Regions from separate parts of the Homo sapiens genome. Here region 2 is linked to region 1. Evidence: promoter capture Hi-C in 16 types of primary human blood cells and fetal thymus (Javierre and others, 2016). All regions are on one chromosome and are shown on one strand. The core of a region is centred on a gene start or on the middle of the fragment in contact, and the rest is flanking DNA. Distances in the headings are between cores, read along the strand shown.

Region 1 (6,734 bases), core at 2,279-4,778:
GTCATTCCTGGGGGCTACGTGAGCCGGGAAATGGTGACCACTTTACCAGAATGGCTCTGGCCTCCTCGGATCCCGCACCACCTGCGGAGGTAGGCACCCTCGCGTGTTACTGCTAAGAAAACTGAGGCCCGAGCGCACAGCTGGAGCCCAGACTGCAGCTCGGCATTCGTCCTGCACGCGGCGGCAGCCAAGCCTGGGAGAACTTTGTCCGCGGTAGCCCAGAGAGCTGTGCAGTGGGGGTCCATAGTGATCCCCCGCCCCTCTCCAGGCCGAGAGAGCCTGATTCATTGTGCAAGACTGAGTCTTATCCCTCTCAAGGGCATAGGGGAGTGGGAAAGTGTCTGAGCCTCTAGGAAGCTCAGAAATGATGCCTCGTCCTACTGCTGGAGAAATTGCTGTCCAGTGGCGGGGATCCGGTGGTTCCAGGTCCTCAACGCCCGGAGCCCGACCTTCCCCAGGGTCCAGCGCTCTTTCCTCAACGGCAGAAATGAGGCCTTGCCGGGAGGGAGTCTTCCAAGGGGGGTTCCCGAATCGGTGCTGCAGTGGGGGTTTTGAAGGGTGAGGAAGAAGGAGAGGAGGATTTCCGAGCCTTGGGACGGACACCTGAAGCGCCGCCCAGGGGCTTGGTCTAAATCGGGGGATGAGAGTCAAAAGGCCCAACCCCTCCATGCTCGCGGCTTCCTCCTTCTCCAGATGTGTACCTCCCTACGAGCACCGGCCCGGAATGCAGTGTGCTGTTACAACTCCCCCGCCGTCATACTACCCATATCCGAACCTTAGGTAAGTCTAACGCGCACACACTCATTTGCACACGCACCCTGAAGGCTTGGTGAGGCGGGGCTGGGGGAGGATGTCTGGTAGACGGGATGAGAACGCTCCGCGGTGCACTGACAGGCACATACCACGAGGGGGAGCTAGTGGCATGGAGCAGTCAAAGGTGGTAAGGACAGAGGACCTTAAGAGAGGGCTAGGAGGCCGGTATTGAAGGGTTACAGGTTGGCAGTGGGCTTACAGCCAAAGGCGTTGGTTCAGAGCTTGAAGTAATGAGTAAGAAGTCGATGTTAAGGAGGAAATATTGGGTATCAGCAACTTAACAGTAGAACCTAAGGTCAGGAGGTCAGTATTGGAACCCAAGGTCAGTGCTATAGACAAAGTGTAGGGATAAGGTTAGCATTGCAAACTGGAGTCAGATATTCACTTTGACATATGAGGATCCAAAACGGCTGACCCATCTCTTCCTGTAGATGGGACACAAGTCACTTCAAGAAGTCTGGTGGTCCCCAGAGAAACAACTATGTTATCCATCCTGAGTTTGTGTCTGAGACCTATCCCGACTATCGTTGCTGGTAGAGCCTGGGCTTGCTGTGCCAAGGGGGCAGAGCAATAAATAAACTCTTCAACCCCAAAGCCTGCCTCCTGTGTCCTTACCCAGCAGGATCTGGAAGTGAAGGGCCAGTCACTCAGGCCTCTATCAAACCCCTTCAACTGAGATGCAATTTTTCTCAAAGTCACCCTTCCCTGGGCCCTTCCAACCCCATCATCTCAGTACATCCCTGAGTGCCCTCCTGACACAGAACAGTAGCCTTATATCCAGCTGCTATCCTCCTCCCCTGAATCCCAGAGCCCAAACGGATGGGTCCACCCTGCAATGCAGGCAGGAGCCATCTACTTTCCACCCCACGAAGACCCTCCAGCTAACATTTCTTCAGTATGCTCCCAAACTTAGATGCCCTCCCACTCATCAGAGGACCCAGAATCCTTCCTTCCACAGTCAAAGACCTATCCCTACACCCAAAGCTCTTGATCTCTGCTTCCAGGAGTCCCCATCACAGCCTCCCAAAAGCCTCTCTGTGCTCAGACACCCTTGCTGCACAAGGTGTGTCCCCCATTCCAAGTCCAACTGGTCAAAACATAATTTTGGAGGGTCTCATGACAAAGAAATTTCAAGTTGCAAAACAAAGCCCTGTTTCTCTGCCCCTCAGGGAGCGAGAAGGGGCCATTCTAAAATCTCTGTGATCTTCAGTATTTTTATTTCTGCATCAAATAGATATGAAACCAGCTGGGTGCAGAGGCTCACACCTGTAATCTCACCACTTTGGGAGGCAGAGGCAGGAGGATCACTTGAGCCCAGGAATTCGATACCAGCTGGGGCAACATAAAGAGACCCCTTCTCTACAAAAAAATTTAAAAATTAGCAGGGTATGGTGGCACACACATGTGGTCCAAGTTACTCAGGAGCCTGAGGCGGGAGGGGATAGCTTGAACCAAGGACATTGAGGCTGCAGTGAGCTATGTTAACGCCACTGCACTCCAGCCTGGGCGACAGAGCGAGACCCTCTCTCAAAAAAATAAAGACCGGACGCGGTGGCCCACACTTGTAATCCCAGCACTTTGGGAGGCCGAGGCAGGTAGATCACCTGAGGTCAGGAGTTTGAGACCAGCCTGACCAACATGGTGAAACTCTGTCTCTACTAAAAATACAAAATTAGCCAGGCGCGGTGGTGCGTGCCTGTAATCCCAGCTACTTGGGAGGCTGAGGCAGGAGAATTGCTTGAACCCGGGAGGCGGAGTTTGCAGTGAGCTGAGATCGTGCCATTGTACTCCAGCCTGGGCAACAAGAACGAAACTCAAAAATAAATAAATATAAAAATAAAATAAAATAAAAAAGAAATGAAACCTCAGAGTCTTGCCCAGCCCCCGGGGAGAGGGGCATGGCGGGGCACACCCACTTTCCCGCAGCTTGGGCATTTCTAACTAAAGGCTGTAACTTAGGAGGAGGGGCTGGACCCTATAAATAACTAGTCTGGGGGTAGCGGTCTGGGAGGCGGGTGACGTTGCAAAACACCGAGCAGAAACCGGTCTTCTCAGTCCCTGACCTCGGACACCGCTGGTTTGGTCCGGTGGGAACCGACAGCTTGGACTCGCGGCGGGTTGGAACTACAGCTCCCTCCGTGGGGCCCTCGATTGGAAGCACCTGCATTGGGAGCTGAGATACTCGCGGAATTCCGCCACCACTTTTCCGTATGGAAAGCTGAGGGCTTGTGAGAGCGTTATACCGATATGGCCTCCACCTGTCCAAACCGGGAAGGAAGGAATTCCAATGGCCAGCTCTGCTCCTTTACCCTGCAGCTCTCTCCCTCTCATCCTCATTCCAAACCTAGCCTAGAGGTGCAAGAACCCCAACCTTCCGCAGCTGCTCCTTTCTGCAGAACTACATGTCCCAGCAGGCCTGGGGCCGAGCCCCGCCCGCTTGCGGGTTAGCAGTGGCCCAGGAGGGGCGGGCCCGCCGGCGGGAGTCGGAGCCGCGGGGCGCAGGACTGAGCAAGCCTGAAATGCCAGGGGCAGAGCACAGAGCGGTGGGAGGAAGGTGGGGCTGAGGGGCGGGGCCACAGATCCGCCTGATAACCTGGGAGGAGGGGTCGAACGTCAAGGGCAGGGCTGGACTCTGAGGCCCGAGACGAGACTGGATGACTGGGGCGTGGCCGAGGAACCCCAGGGCGGGACCCGAGGAGGGGCTGTGCCCTGCCAGACAGAGCCCCGCGCGGCGCGGCGGCAGCTTCACTCTGGTTCAAGCGCAGGGGATCGGCGGGAAGCTCTTTCACCCCCGCTTCTGCCGGGCTGTAACTGCAATGGGTGAGCCCAGCGGGAGGGCTGTGGGGGGCGGGGGGCTGCTGAAGGAGCACGATTCCTGAACTTTCGCTCCCACCGATGAATGGGTGGAGCGAGCCTGAACACCTGGGCCCATCCCACGGCCGCGATTCCCGCGGGGCGACAGGTCCCTTGACCTCGGTCGGCCCCTTCGGACAGTATAGCCTTCAGGGCGGGGTAGGGAGGGCGGCTGTGGAGTATTCCAGGCTATGTAGGCAGTCACTCGATCCCCGCGGATACCGTCGCCTGGCAGGAGAGGGAGATGGGCCGGATCGAGTTGCCTTTGACATTTCCATCCCCCCGGGAACTGTGTCCAACTAACGATTCTACTTGGAATGGCCTCCCCTCAGTTGAGTCGGGCGGGGCCCTCCCCCTCAGACCAGACTAGCTGTGGCAGCCAAGGCTGAGGTTGAGTGTCCGGTGGGGAGAGGCTCAGCAGGGGCAGAGCCCAGACTCCACCTGGCGGAGGCGGCAGATTACAGAGGTCTCTGGCACCACTGTTAACACCGGAACCACAGACTTCCTCCCCCAAAGCCCCGGTACCAGATGCCATTAAAATTGCCCTCTTTGCTGCCCTCGTGGTCTTCGTGGTCCGCGTGGAGCAAGCAGCAGCACCAGCCCTTGGAAAGACAGGCCTCACCATGCCATGTCCATCTGATGGAAGCTGGTCCCACCAGCTCAGCCCCAGGGCTCCTTTCTGCTACTGCATTCAGGCAGCCAGGTCAGATCATTATCTCCCATCTCCTAAAACTTACACTGTGGAGAGCTGGGCTGGGATTTTAGATCCAGGCAGCCTTGATACCTGGCTAACTTCAGACAAGTTCCTTTTTCTGTTTGGGCCACGTTTCCTCACCTGTAAAATGGACACTGCAGCTATGTCTGCTGTTCCACATTGTTGATAGAACTGGATGCTGTGGTGACATTTGGGACACTATCATGGTGCCTGGGGTGGGTGGGTGCCCAGGCCTGTGGGCTTCTGTCTTTCATCAAAGAACTTCAGATCCCAGAAAATTAAGATTCTCAAAACATAACTGTCGGAAAGGGCTTTTGAATCCACCTTGGTGGCCTCTTCCTGCCTCCAGGGCTCATGAGATAGGCTGACTTCATATGAAAGTTTTGAGGATGAGGAAGTCTCTCTCCTCTTCAGATACTGACCCTCTCTCTCCTTATTTCCTTGGTGCCCAGAATAGGGCTTTGGTTATCTTGAATGAATGAATATAAACTCACAGGTGTGATCTGAGCCACCTAAAGCCTTCTTTGGGTTCTGCTCAGCTTGAGGGCATCACCTAAAGGCCACTGGCTGCATTTTCCAGGAGGTGTTTTCTAAGCTGTATCTATATAGGAATGGGGAGGAAAGCTAAGTCATTGTAGACTGAGAGAAAGGGAATAAGAGTCTGTTCCAGACCAGCTAGGGCTGACAAGCTTAGGCAGCTGGGGGCAGAGGGCACTGAGAATGAGGCCCTGAGCTAGCACCGTGTGGGAAGTGCCTATGGGAGGAGCTGTGTATTGACATTTAGGATCAAATTCTGCTCCACACCTTGCATTCTTGCATGGGGGAGGTGAAAAACCTGAGTATTTCCGGCATCTCCTTGGAAGTCCCTGGGGACTTAGAGACAGACACTGGCATCTGGGAGGAGGCTAATTACTGTTTGCTAGTCTCCTTCTCTTCTTCCCCCGAGCTGGAGCAGTTGGGCAACCAACTGGCTGGCTGTGTGTATGCCCGTGTGTGCACCTGGGTGGTGCTATTTCTTTGTTGGACTCTGCTCTGAAGCCTGGGACAGGAACGGTCAGTGGCCTTGAGTGGCAGAGTAGGACACACCTCTTCCCCTGAGCCTGTGTTTCCCTGTAGTCATATCTGTATTTTTTTTTTTTTTTTGAGATAGGGTCTCACTTTGTCACCTAGGCTGGAGTGCAGTGGCACAATCTTGGCTCACTGCAGCCTTGACCTCCTGGGCTCAAGCGACCCTCCCACCTCAGCCCCCCAAGTAGCTGGGACTACAGGTGCACACCACCATGCCTGGCTAATTTTTTTTTTTTTTTGTATTTTTGGTAGAGACAGGGTTTCAACATGTTGCCCAGGCTGGTCTCAAACTCCTGAGCTCAAGAGATCTGCCCTCCTTGGCCTCCCAAAGTGCTAGGATTACAGGCATGAGCACCGTGCATGGCCTCATATCTGGATATTTAGCATATAGTGTGTCAGAGTTTATGTGTGTTAGTGGTAGTGGTGGGTGTCTGATCCCTGGAGAGCAGGTAGGTGGAGGAGGTGCGCTGGGCCAAGCTAGGTGGGTGAAATCTCCTGAAGCAGGTGGCCTAAAGGATTTAGGTTGGGGAAGGAACGAGCTTGGTAATCACAAGATAGGCTTGGCTGGAAATGGAATCAGAATGGTAGCTGAGAACACATCATGCCTGGAGCCTCCAGTGCAAAGCAAACACTTTTAAATTTCATCATGGAAGCAATGAGCAGCTCTCGAAGCTAGGGATAGATATGGTTTGATAAGTGCTTTAGAAAGATCACTATGGTTGCCGTGATCAGAAGGCACTGGTGAGAAAGAAGTTAGAGTCAGAGAGGCCTGTTGGGGGAAGCGTTTGGTAATACAGGGGAGAAGTGACAGTGCCCAAACTATGACAGAAACAGGACAGTGGGTGAAACAGAGCGAGGAAGTAGCTGGCCCACAGATGTGGTGCCAGGAGCAAAGCAGGAAGGCAGGCATGGAAATGGATTTGGTGATGGATGATGGCTGAGAGCAGGGTGAGTTTGAGGGCAAAGAGAAGCAGATGTGAGAAACAACTGGCCCCCCATGCCAGGCTCCTGCCCCAGGCCCTAATGTCTGAACCCAACTCTACCTCCCTCCAAACCAGGCCCTGGGACTAAGTCTGGCTTTGGGTGTCTTCTTCAATCTCCAGACTTCATCAGGCTTTTGACTCAGGATAAAAACACATCCCTGAGCTGTTCTCCCTTCCTCCCTCCTCTCCCCCTCTGGGGACAGGGAAGCTAGCCTACCGCCCTGTTAAAAGTCTCAAGGGGGACTGGGCGAGGTGGCTCACGCCTGTAATGCCAGCACTTCTGGAGGCTGAGGCAGGTGGAT
Region 2 (6,734 bases), core at 2,006-4,505, 550 kb after region 1:
TACTCAGGAATCTCTGTAGGATTTTTTTTTTTTTTTTTGAGACAGAGTCCCATTCTGTTGCTCAGGCTGGAGTGCAGTGGCACAAGATTTTGGCTCACCGCAAACCTGCACCTCCTGGGTTCAAGCGATTCTCCTGCCTCAGCCTCCCAAGTAGCTGGGACTACAGGCGCATGCCACCACACCCGGCTACTTTTTGTATTTTTAGTAGAGATGGGGTTTCACCATATTGGCTATGCTGGTCTTGAACTCCTGACCTCAAGTGATCTGCCCACCTCCGCCTCCCAAAAGTGCTGGGATTACAGGTGTGAGCAGGCATGAGCCACTGCATCCAACCAACTCAGATATCTCTGTAGTCGTATGTGAAGCAGTTCAAAAGAAGTTCAGAAACATAAAAGAATTAAACCTTTTCAATATAATCTTTAAGCAAGATGGAAATCTGTAGTCCTAAACTCTGAATTTATACCTTTTCCTCACTGTTATTTTTCCATAACTAGATTATCAGAGGTAGCCTAATTTGCTGGATGGTCTCCTTTCTCTCACGTGTCTCCAACTGACCATTAAGTTGGAAAGATGGAACAGAACATTTTATCATTATGTTGAAAAATGGTCTAACTAGCCTTAAAGCTTTAAAAGCTTTGCTTTTGGACAGGTGTGGTGGCTCATGCCTGTAATCCCAGCACTTTGGGAGGCCGAGGTGGGTGGATTACCTGAGGTCAGGAGTTTGAGACCACCCTGACCAACATGGTGAAACCCCATCTCTACTAAAAATACAAAAATTAGTCTGGCATGGTGGCACACGCCTGTAGCCCCAGCTACTCGGGAAGCTGAGGAGGAGAATTGCTTGGACCCAGGAGATGGAGGCTGCAGTGAGCCAAGATTGTACCACTGCACTCCAGCTTGGGTAACAGAGACTCTGTCTCAAAAAAAAAAAAAAAAAAAGCTTTGCTTTTATGAAGATCATTCTTTTTGTTTTTGTTGTTTGCCTCCCAAAGTGCTGGGATTACAGGCGACCGCCTGGCCGATCATTCTTAAAAGCTCTAAGGTTATCATTGTCCTAATACTTTCACTTACTATCTTTAAGGAAGTGACTTTTCCTACAATTTGCTTTTCCTTTAATGAGTCCTCAATAAAAATTTTTCCTGACACAAAAGGTGAAAAAAGGAGAATCAACGCAGAGTATTAATTAGGACCTAAATCCTTCAATCCAGGAAGAAATAATCCTTATTTTAGCAAATCTATGACATTGAAACTGGTATTTAAAAAAAAATTTACCAAAAGATTTCAATGAAATGGTCTCTCACAACTAGGTTATAAGTACCACTTGGCTGATGGCAATTACAAGACTTCATGGATTCCAAGAATTTTTTTTTTTTTTTTTTTTGAGACAGAGCTTCACTCTGTTGCCCAGGCTGGAGTACACTGGCATGATCTAGGCTCACTGCAGCCTCCACCTCTTGGGTTCAAGCAATTCTCCTGCCTCAGCCTCCCAAGTAGCTGGGACTGCAGGTGCGGACCATCACACCCGCTAATTTTTTTTTTTTTTTTGAGACAGAGCCTCGCTCTCTCGCCCAGGCTAGAGAGCAGTGCCTCGATATCAGTTCACTGCAAGCTCCGCCTCCCGGGTTCACGCCATTCTCCTGCCTCAGCCTCCCAAGTAGCTGGGACTACATGTGCCTACCACCATGCCTGGCTAATTTTTTTGTATTTTTTTAGTAGAGATGGGGTTTCACCACGTTAGCCAGGATGATCTCCATCTCCTGACCTCGTGATCCGCCCGCCTCGGCCTCCCAAAGTGCTAGGATTACAGGCATGAGCTACCGCGCCCGGCCCACACCAGCTAATTTGTGTATTTTTAGTGGAGACCGGGTTTCACCATGTTGGCCAGGCTGGTCTTGAACTCCTGACATCAGGTGATCCACCCGCCTCGGCCTCCCAAAGTCCTGGGATTACAGGAATGAGCCACCACACCTGGCCATCTAAGAAATTTCTTAATCAAAAAGAAGTTAAAAGGTAGAAAAATATGCATCTTGTAATCAACTAAACAGGATAAAAGCATATTCTATGAAAAACTAAGGCATCATATTTGGTTTGAAAAATGTTCTGAGAAACAACAAAAAGTGAAACTTCATTTAGTTTCCAAAACCCTTAGACCTTAACTGTGTTTCCATTTATAACGTTACCTTAGTTCACCCAGTACTCAAGACAACTTCATCTTCCAGAAAGAGACAGCTAAATGCCCTAAGAGGTAGTTTCAAAGTTAACTGAGAGAAATGGGGGAATAAAAGAGCATTCGTTTTATAATTTTAAAGGAGCTGTTTAAAATTGTCTTTAAGTTGCCTATCCAAATACCTTACAAGAGGATTCTTAGCTCATCGGCAGTAAACCCTCTGAAAAAGATACATAAAATTAGTTTACGTGTACCCATTTTCTCTGAGAAAATTCTTCAATTTCTCAAAAGAATCCCTGTCTCAAAAAGGCAAACAATCATTTTCCTAAAAAAATTTTTTCAGCCAGGCGCGGTGGCTCATGCCTGTAATCCCAGCACTTTGGGAGGCCAAGGCGGGTAGATCATCTGAGGTCAGGAGTTTGAGACCAGCCTGGACAACATGGTGAAACCCCGTTTCCACTAAAAATACAAAAATTAACCGGGCGTGCTGGCACGCACCTGTAATCCCAGCTACTTGGGAGGCTAAGGCAGGAGAACTGCTTGAACCCGGGAGGCAGAGGTTGCAGTGAGCCAAGATCGCGCCACTGCACTTCAGCCTGCGCAACAGAGCAAGACTCCATCTAGGAAAAAAAAAAATTTTTTTTCAACTATATTTTACCAATTAAAGAGTCATAAAATAGGCTGGGTGCAATGGTTCAGACCTATAATCGCAGTGCTTTGGGAGGCTGAGGCGGGAGGATTACTTGAGCCCAGGAGTTCAAGACAAGCCTGGACAACATAGCGAGACTCTGTCTCTAAAATAATAATAATAGGCTGGGCACACTGGCTCACATCTGTAATCCCAGCACTTTGGGAGGCCAAGGTGGGCAGATCACTTGAGGCCAGGAGTTCAAGACCAGCCTGGCCAACATGGCAAAACCCCATCTCTACTAAAAATTACAAAAATTAGCCAGGCATGGTGGTGCACGCCTGTAATCCCAGCTACTTGGGAGGCTGAGGCACGAGAACTGCTTGAACACAGGAGGTAAAGGTTGCAGTGAGCCGAAATCACACCACTGCAGTCCAGCCTGAGCAACAGAGCGAGACTCAGCTAAAAAAAAAAAAAAAAAATTAATAAGAAGAAGAAAAAGAAAAAAAAGAAATAAAATATCTAAATGACATTGCCAGATCTAGGCTAAGTCTGGTTTGTTTTTTTAGGGGGAAGAGGGAAGGCAGAAAATAGATTCATTCATTGCAAAACAAATGAAGCATAGGAAATAATGCATATTCTCTTATTAAAAAAAAAATTATTTGGCTGGGTGTGGTAGCTCACATCTGTAACACCAGCACTTTGGGAGGCCAAGGTGGGAGGATTGTTTGAAGCCAGGAGTTCGAGACCAGCCTGGCCTATGAGACCCTTTCTGCATAAACAATTTTTTTTTTAAATTAAAACGAGTGTGGTATGCACCTGCAGTCCCAGCTACTCAGGAGGGTGAGGCAAGAGGATCCCTTGAGCCCAAGTGTTTCAGGCTGCAGTGAGCTATGATCACACCACTGCACTCCAGCCTGGGCAACAAAGTGAGACCCTATCTCTTAAAAAAAAAAAAAAAAGGTTTTGAAGAGTTTCTTTAATGTAAGTCAGTGTAGGCCAGGTGTGGTGGCTCAGGCCTGTAATCCCAGCACTTTGGGAGGCTGAGGTGAGCGGGATCACCTGAGGTCAGGAGTTTGAGACCAGCCTAACCAACATGGAGAAACCTCGTCTCTACCAAAAATACAGAATTAGCTGGGCATGGTGGCGCATGCCTGTAATCCCAGCTACTCAGGAGGCTGAGGCAGAAGAATCGCTTGAACCCAGGAGGCGGAGGTTGCAGTGAGCCGAGATCGCTCCACTGCACTCCAGCCTGGGCAATAAGAGCAAAACTCAGTCTCAAAAAAAAAAAATATATATATATATATGTCAGTGTTGAGTCTAATAAAGATGTTCCTAATAAGGAAAACTTTAAGTATACAACAAATACTTTCTAAATTATCAGACTGGAGTTTTCTAAAAATGGAACACATCTATATTTCATTACCTCAATCAAATTATTTAATAAAATCAAAACTATAAAAGGTTGGCCAGGAGTGGTGGCTCAGGCCTCTAATTAGGATTACATTTTGGGAGGCTGAGATGGGCAGATCACTTAAGGTCAGGGGTTCAAGACCAGCCTGGCCAACATGGTGAAACCCTGTCTCTACTAAAAATACAAAAAGAATTAGCCAGGTTTCATGGCGCACGCCGGTAATCCCAGCTACTCGGGAGGCTGAGGCAAGAGAATCGCTTGAACCCAGGAGGCAGAGGTTGCAGTGAGCTGAGATCGTGCCACTGCACTCCAGCCTGGCAAAAGAGTGAGACTCCATCTCAAAAAAAAAAAAAATTTTTTTTTGTTATGCATATCATAAAAGAGGCACTCTTTCTGGCTCTAGACTCACTGCTATAATGCTTTAGATAAATAATGCAAAAGTTCCAAGGAGGTTCAGTACTAAAGCACCCACACTAAGCTACAATCCTTAGCAGGAGTTATTTGAAAAGATAGTTCCAGCCGGGCATGGTGGCTGACGCCTGTAAAACCAGCACTTTGGGTGGCTGAGAAAGGAGGATCCTTTGAACCCAGGAGTTTGAGACCAGCCTGGACAAAATAGTGAGACCCTACCTCACTTAACAATACTGAAGAAAAAAAAATTAGCCGGGCGTAGTCATGCCTGTAGTCCCAGCTACTCAGGGGGCTGAGGTGGGAGGACTGCTTGAGCCTAGGATGTGGAAGCTGCAGTGAGCCATGATCACACCACTGTACCCCAAACTAAGTGACAGAGAAAGACCCTGAAAAAGTTCCTTTCAAAAGAAAGGGGGTGAACTTGTTAAAAGTCTTCATTAGCTACTGACTTGATCCACAATTTATTTTTCTAGTAACAATAAAATTCCGACTTGCTTAGGTAGCAAAATAAGAAACTACACAAAAAGATAGTAAGGCCAAAAAAGATTGTATAGTATTCAGAATGGACAGAAGAAACTATCTTTGCCCATCCTACATCTATATGGCCCAAAACTAAGAATCACGTGGATTGGCGATATTAAATAAGCGAAAGCAGGATGAATAAAAAAATTCTGTGAAATACAGGTCTCACAAATCTCCAATGCAGATCCTGTGGGTAAGAGACAAGAGCCAACTATTTCAGGGTGAAAAAGATCAGTTAGAAACCTATTAATATATAAAAGTTAAAGGAATTACAGTATGAAAAATGTAAAGAATGACTGGCAGTCCCACTGCCTTCACGAATGACTATGCCAAAAAGGGAAAAGAGTTTAACTTGAAAATAAATTATACTAAATGTTCAAGGACTAACATTTAATAAGGGAGAAGAGTGATATGGTAGGGAAAGCTTTGTGCCAACTTTCAACTGCAGCTGTAGTGAAATACACTAAAAGCCTTGTCTTAAGACAAAAGCAGTAAAATAAAAACAATGGTTTTAAACATATCCCCAGTGTCAACTGCTCATGACCATAAATTTGCCTTTTTCTAATGAACAACTAATGGGATAAAAGGCCATATAAGGGAAAAAGTAGTCGAAAATACAATCGAACAAACTTCTCACACAAGACTAAACCATAAAACCTGTTTACAAATTTTCATACATGTCAGAATTAAAGGTAAAAACACTCAAAGCTTAAGAAATCTAACATCACAAAGCACGAGATTAAATCATTCTTTTAAACAAGGACTGAAGTTCAGAAGCATTTAATTTAAATCAGTGTATTAACACAAGGAATCCTTCCATACTTCCTATTTCAGAGAGGGTTCTCCACACTCCTTTCCCAGACTTATGCACAAATATTACAACTTGCAACCCATTATTTTCTCTCATGTACAAGTTTTGTTTTGTTTTGTTTTGTTTGCTCTTGTTTTTAACTTTATTGGAGTGAGATTATTCTAACTAGTACCCATTTATTTATTTTAAATATCGGTTGTACCAAACAATGACACTTTTTGGAAATCAAACTTTATTCCACTAACATTAGCCAGCAGATTTTGCTAAACAATGTTTTGTCAGAAAAGGCATCATGGCCGGGCGCAGTGGCTCACGCCTGTAATCCCAGCACTTTGGGAGGCAGAGGCGGGTTGATCACAGGGTCTGGAGTTCGAGACCGGCCTGGCCAATATGGTGAAACCCCATCTCTACTAAAAATACAAAAATTAGCTGGGCGTGGTGGCGTGCGCCTGTAGTCCCAGCAGCTTGGGAGGCTGAGGCAGGAGAATAGCTTGAATCTGGGAGGCGGAGGTTGCAGTGAGGCGAGATCGCGCCACTGCACTCCAGCCAGGGTGACAGAGCGAGACTCCGTCTCAAAAAAAAAAAAGAAAGGTATCACATACATTCAATTTTGTACAACTAATTTTTCCAGTATGCATAAAAATTTATATTTGACAACAGAGAATATGCTTCATCATAAACACAGCAATATCTTTTCCACTTTGTTACTAATAAGTTGCATGTTTTCTTAGTAATTTTAAATACCTCCATCTGAAAAGTATAGGGTAGGCTGACCACAAAA

Evidence for each region. The method cuts DNA at HindIII sites, captures the fragments that hold promoters and counts their contacts. A CHiCAGO score of 5 or more calls a contact.
Region 2: a contact is called between a fragment that was not itself captured here and the fragment with the promoter of MYORG in region 1, in 1 of 17 cell types (naive CD8 T cells). The highest score is 5.4, in naive CD8 T cells.

The regions. Positions count from the first base shown.
Region 1 is chr9:34,373,692-34,380,425 of GRCh38, reverse strand. MYORG (myogenesis regulating glycosidase) reads left to right here and starts at 3,528. Exons shown (of 2, transcript NM_020702.5): 1 at 3,528-3,633. It overlaps SPMIP6 (sperm microtubule inner protein 6), which reads left to right. Exons shown (of 7, transcript NM_032596.4): 6 at 694-780; 7 at 1,245-1,407. The coding sequence ends at 780. RefSeq lists a silencer at 3,164-3,553 and enhancers at 3,599-4,179, 4,180-4,761. The HindIII fragment of the contact is 6,785 bases long and covers 1-5,072 here.
Region 2 is chr9:33,819,450-33,826,183 of GRCh38, reverse strand. The region is part of intron 1 of UBE2R2 (ubiquitin conjugating enzyme E2 R2); the gene reads right to left. Among named protein-coding and RNA genes, the nearest start is that of UBE2R2-AS1, 3.9 kb to the right of the region's middle. The HindIII fragment of the contact is 4,626 bases long and covers 943-5,568 here.